2 separate regions of the Homo sapiens genome follow, and region 2 is linked to region 1. The links are contacts of gene promoters, found by promoter capture Hi-C in human tissues and cell types (Jung and others, 2019). All regions are on one chromosome and are shown on one strand. The core of a region is centred on a gene start or on the middle of the fragment in contact, and the rest is flanking DNA. Distances in the headings are between cores, read along the strand shown.

Region 1 (3,260 bases), core at 423-2,922:
TTCCTGTCTCATGTTCTAGGTCTTAATTGAGAGGCACAGACTTCATGGAATTGTCTTCTCTTGTGAGATGATTCATTACCTGGATTTATGAGAATAAGGAGTAGAGGAAGATGGTGAGGGGCCAACATGTGATATCTAACAAAGTTAATATTAGAATATATTTAGAAACCTAGGATAGAAGGAGAATGCAAGACAGCTGGCACCTACCCAGTAGATTGTGTTTGGGAGAGCACATATGAATGCCATGTTCTCAGAACCACATAGGAAGTGTTCTAGGGTAACAGAAATGGGGGTGGGGGCAGTCACGTAAGAAGCTTGGTGCTCTCTGGATGATTTGGGAGGACATGGGAATCCTACTATAGAGTTATGCTGAGATTCTTACCTGCTCTGAGAGACCTAGGAGAAGCCCTTTAAAAGCAGGCAGTAGTGAGGACATCAGTAACTGTATCAGGGATACAATAGTACAAAAAGACCTAGCTCTTAGATTCAGAACTCTCTGAAAACACTGAAAGAATATATGTACTCTCTTTCTCTCTAAGATCAAAAACAGCAATTCCATAATACTGCTGCAAGGCACAATGTGGTAAGACTCACTGTGATTTATTGAGCAGTTATTACCTGCCAGTCACAGTACTACGTGTTTAAATGTATCATCTTATTTAATGCTTATAATTTCTCGGTGAGTAGGTGATGTTAGTAATGCCAAATAACATAAGAGGGAACTAGAGAATGATTTACTAGTACTGTTCAGTTTTCAAATACTCCTTGCTACTAATAATTAAATTCTTGGTGTTTTTTTTTTAAGTTTTCCCACGAGCAAGGCAGCGAAAATAGAATGTGGTAGATAGAATTCCAAGCAGCCTTCAAGATTCTTGCCCACTGGTATACACTTTCTGTTTAATAACCTTCCTTTGAGTATGCCTGGGACCTGTTAATATGATGGGATATCACCCCTTTGACTGCATTATGTAACATTATATAACATTTTGTCATAGCAAACTGGAGAGAGTTTATCTCATTGGTTTCAAAGAAGTAACCTGTTGTGTTTTAAGAAGACCAAGTAGCTAGGACTTTCTAGCACCTAGGGGGACCTCTGTAAGGTGAGAGTGATATGTCCTGCCAACAAACAGCAAGAAAACTGGGACCTCAGTCCTAAAACTACAAGGAATTGAATCATGCACACAACCCCCATAAGGTTGGAAGATGATCCCAGCCTCAGATGAGATTGCAGCCCCTGGCGATACATTGATTAAAACCTGGTGAGACCCTGAACAGGGAACCCAGCTGACCTGACCCACAGAAAGGGCGAGACAATAAATTTGCATGTTTTAAGCCAGTAAGTTTGTGGTAATTTATGCACCCATTGAAATCGAGACAATGTGTTTCTCCTAATTTATTCTGCGTATGTCTCTGTGTGTGTGTTTGTATGTGACAGAGAGAGAGAGAGAGAGAGAGAGAGAGAGAGAGAGAGAGAGAGAGAGAGAGAGAGAGAGACTAGGAAATCACTTCATTAGCTTTATGAAGGAAGCTTTGTAACAAGCAAAGTCCATGAAAACTCCAGAATTATCTACCTGGTTTTCACATAGAGAATGACTTCTCAGTTATCAATTAATTGGTAAATGCTGGGTGCTCCTTATATCCCCAGAGGGAGAGAGACCAAGGGTGAGAAGAAATGTCCAAGACCAGCCTCGTGACAGCGTTCATCCTCACGGGCCTTCCCCATGCCCCAGGGCTGGACGCCCCACTCTTTGGAATCTTCCTGGTGGTTTACGTGCTCACTGTGCTGGGGAACCTCCTCATCCTGCTGGTGATCAGGGTGGATTCTCACCTCCACACCCCCATGTACTACTTCCTCACCAACCTGTCCTTCATTGACATGTGGTTCTCCACTGTCACGGTGCCCAAAATGCTGATGACCTTGGTGTCCCCAAGCGGCAGGGCTATCTCCTTCCACAGCTGCGTGGCTCAGCTCTATTTTTTCCACTTCCTGGGGAGCACCGAGTGTTTCCTCTACACAGTCATGTCCTATGATCGCTACTTGGCCATCAGTTACCCGCTCAGGTACACCAGCATGATGAGTGGGAGCAGATGTGCCCTCCTGGCCACCAGCACTTGGCTCAGTGGCTCTCTGCACTCTGCTGTCCAGACCATATTGACTTTCCATTTGCCCTACTGTGGACCCAACCAGATCCAGCACTATTTGTGTGATGCACCGCCCATCCTGAAACTGGCCTGTGCAGACACCTCAGCCAACGAGATGGTCATCTTTGTGGACATTGGGCTAGTGGCCTCGGGCTGCTTTCTCCTGATAGTGCTGTCTTATGTGTCCATCGTCTGTTCCATCCTGCGGATCCACACCTCAGAGGGGAGGCACAGAGCCTTTCAGACCTGTGCCTCCCACTGCATCGTGGTCCTTTGCTTTTTTGTTCCCTGTGTTTTCATTTACCTGAGACCAGGCTCCAGGGACGTCGTGGATGGAGTTGTGGCCATTTTCTACACTGTGCTGACACCCCTTCTCAACCCTGTTGTGTACACCCTGAGAAACAAGGAGGTGAAGAAAGCTGTGTTGAAACTGAGAGACAAAGTAGCACATTCTCAGGGAGAATAAATACTAGGAAGTAGATACACTAGTTTGTTTAAAAATAGTAATATAATTTAGTTATTCATGTGAAATTGATTATATGTATAGTTCTCAGTGTTAAACATTATTCCAAAACACCTGCACAGTTATAATTCTTCCACAGATTGTCTAAGACAGTTTTAACCTCACAGCTAGACTTATGTGTATGAGGAACATGCTTATATTCTGATTTATTGATTCATTTCTCATCAATAGGTTCATATTAATTTAAAAAAATATTTTCATCGAATCTCCGGGATAGATGGTTGAGTCCTTCATGTTTACAACTTGATAAAAAGTTTTGTGTTTTGTTTGATTTTTTTTGCACACAAACTTAACAATTTACCATTATGGAGACATCGTTCAAAAATAGCAACAAATATTTGAGGTCATTTTTCTAATTGTGGCTGTAGCTGTTCAAATTTCTTTTTGGTTTTAATGTATCTGTATATTTGTATGTGTCTATACAAATCCAAACGTGTATACAAAAGAAAGTCTGTAGCATTTAGCATATTTAACATATAGGTTTTCATCATGTATGTATATGTATCTGTCTATTTACATACATGTATTGGAAAACATTTCTAGAAACACTATTTTTAATGGGCAAAAATAGCAAGCTATTAATATTTAAATATTA
Region 2 (3,226 bases), core at 700-3,199, 33 kb before region 1:
CTTATAAAAGTGGATTTCTTCCAATCTTTTTCTATTCCTGCTTTTGTTGGATTCTTTAGTAGAGCTACAGATGGAGATGAGCAGTGCCTTATTTCCAGGAGGCATGGGAAATTTCATCCAATACCTGTGAACTTTTGCCTGGAGTCTGAATTTCATTACATCGATAAGAGTACAGGAATCCCACCTGCCACACACCCAGAGTGAGTCTTGGAATCTGAAACTCTTTCAAAGCTTGGAATTGTGTGTTCAGTTAATAATCAAGGCAATTTCTGTGGTTTGTAGTATTCTCTGGATTTCATCTCTAAATTTTTAGGCAACAAAAGCCAAAATTGACAAATGGGATCTAATTAAACTAAAGAGCTTCTGCACAGCAAAAGAAACTACCATCAGAGTGAACAGGCACCCTACAAAATGGGAGAAAATTTTCGCAACCTACTCATCTGACAAAGGGCTAATATCCAGAATCTACAATGAACTCAAACAAATTTACAAGAAAAAAACAACCCCATCAAAAAGTGGGCGAAGGACATGAACAGACACTTCTCAAAAGAAGACATTTATGCAGCCAAAAAACACATGAAAAAATCCTCACCATCACTGGCCATCGGAGAAATGCAAATCAAAACCACAGTGAAATACCATCTCACACCAGTTAGAATGGCAATCATTAAAAAGCCAGGAAACCACAGGTGCTGGAGAGGATGTGGAGAAATAGGAACACTTTTACACTGTTGGTGGGACTGTAAACTAGTTCAACCATTGTGGAAGTCAGTGTGGCAATTCCTCAGGGATCTAGAACTAGAAATACCATTTGACCCAGCCATCCCATTACTGGGTATATACCCAAAGGACTATAAATCATGCTGCTATAAAGACACACGCACACGTATGTTTATTGCGGCATTATTCACAATAGCAAAGACTTGGAACCAACCCAAATGTCCAACAATGATAGACTGGATTAAGAAAATGTGGCACATATACACCATGGAATACTATGCAGCCATACAAAATGATGAGTTCATGTCCTTTGTAGGGACATGGATGAAATTGGAAATCATCATTCTCAGTAAATTATCGCAAGAACAAAAAACCAAACACCACATATTCTCACTCACAGGTGGGAATTGAACAATGAGAGCACATGGACACAGGAAGGGGAACATCACACTCGGGACTGTTGTGGGGTGGGGGGAGGGGGGAGGGATAGCATTAGGAGATATACCTAATGCTAGATGACGAGTTAATGGGTGAAGCACACCAGCATGGCACATGTATATATATGTAACTAACCTGCACAATGTGCACATGTACCCTAAAACTTAAAGTATAATAATAATAAAAAGAATGCAACCCCCCCCCAAAAAACACAATTCTTAAAATTTCAGCCAAAGTTGGGGAAATGTAAGAAATTGATATGATCAGGAAATGGGATTAGAGTATACTTTTTAAAAATCTTGACATTATTAAGTTGCTTAAAGTTTTAATAAAACATTTTTTAAAAATAAAAAAAAAGGACTTGTCTTACTACACACACCCTTTCTATTCTCTTCAATGGGTAAAGCTAGATATCAGAATTCCATTTGAATTTTTCTGTTTTTTAAAAAACATGAATAGCCTTTTTCTTGAAATGTAAGTCTTATTTGTATCTGCATTTAATTTTTTATAACCATTATCCTTAGTTTCTCATTTCATAATGAGATGAAACCCATCATAAGCCATTCTCATAACGAAATGAGAGACTGAGGGTAATGGTCATAAAAGACTCATTTCATAATGAGTCTCTCATTTCATTATGTCTCAGGGATTATAATTATAATCTCCTGCAAGGTCTTCTCAACTCTCACCTCTCCCCTTTAATGAATCACTTCATCCTGCATAACATTGACTGATCAAATTTCAAAAGAGTTTATCTCACTGGTCCCCTCCCACAAATGCTAATAATCTCAATCTCACATACTGATTTACTGTGCAACACAAAATTCTCAATTTATAACTCAAAACTTCTAAAATGTGATTGGTATCCATTTATTCTTATCCCCTACAACTTTTCTCTACTCAAGTACATTTCTCTGTTCAATAAGCATTTCTTTATGCAAGTAGATTTTCTCAACCTCTCCTAAATTTACTGTTAATCTCCTCTTGTTCTCCTCACCCTACCCAATCCCCCCTTGAAGAAATCAACTTCATTTTTATCTGATAACATCTCTAAAGCTTCTCGGACTTTAGTGTGCACATGAGTCACCTGGGACTCTTGTTAAGCTGCAAATCCTAATTCAACAGGTCTGGAGTAGGGACTGAGATTTCTGTCTTTCTAATAAGTGCCCAGAGATTTCCATTATGTGGTTCCATGAATTGCACTTTGAGTAGCAAGAATCTAAGCTACTATTCGAGGTTAAGATCAAGCCTATCCTCTCCATGTTGTCTTTCTACCCTAAGAATGCTTTGGTTCCCCTGTAAACTCAGTGGCATTTAACAGTGTGTTTTGATATGTAGCCTGTTCAGAAACTCTCTTAGCATACTTCTACACTTTTCTATGTGTATGTGATATAGTTCCCTAAGAAGAAGAATGTTTTCCATAAATATCTTTGAAAGAGAGCCAAAAAATGGCATGAACTATGAAGTTAGATGGACTTGGGTTTATTGTCCTGTCACTGTCAACTACTGGTTGAAGGATATTTGGAAGATTGCTCACTTCCTCTTCTCCTCTTGCTAAATACATCAATTCCACACCTTTAAAATGAAAATAATAATGCATAAAGAGTGTCCTATTAATAGTTGCTATTAACCCTGGATAGTATGTGAAATAACATAAAATCTTAATTTTTTAAAAGTCAGTTACTCAAACCGCTGAATTTTACATGACCCTTTCAATATGAGAATATCACTACTTCACAGAAAAGTCAATTCCAATATTGGACTGTTCATATACAATTTATACCATATACTGTTATACATATACTGTTCATACAATTTAAATCAACATGACTAAACTTCCCCCAATTATTTTTAGCCTAATCCTTTAAGCTCAATGAAATAGTCAAAATACCAAATAAATTCAAATAGAAATAATTTTTTGAACAAATCATGCTTACTGTATTTCACCACCTGCGTATAGCATAAAAATGGTAGGTGAGAAAAATCTGGCTAGTGACTGTCAAGCCTGACAAAAAAATTGAGACTTTGCTATGACACCTCTTTTCTTATCTCTTTCCTAGGAGTGTTT

The links. The method cuts DNA at HindIII sites, captures the fragments that hold promoters and counts their contacts. A contact is called where the count stands out against the background at its distance.
Region 2: a fragment that was not itself captured here is called in contact with the fragment with the promoter of OR10G9 in region 1 in 1 of the 25 tissues and cell types used here (H1 embryonic stem cells).

What each region holds. Positions count from the first base shown.
Region 1 is chr11:124,021,341-124,024,600 of GRCh38, forward strand. It overlaps OR10G9 (olfactory receptor family 10 subfamily G member 9), which reads left to right and starts at 1,673. Exons shown (of 1, transcript NM_001001953.1): 1 at 1,673-2,608. The coding sequence starts at 1,673. The coding sequence ends at 2,608. The HindIII fragment of the contact is 4,788 bases long and covers 922-3,260 here.
Region 2 is chr11:123,987,714-123,990,939 of GRCh38, forward strand. No RefSeq gene overlaps it. Among named protein-coding and RNA genes, the nearest start is that of OR10G6, 5.8 kb to the right of the region's middle. The HindIII fragment of the contact is 7,262 bases long and covers 1-3,226 here.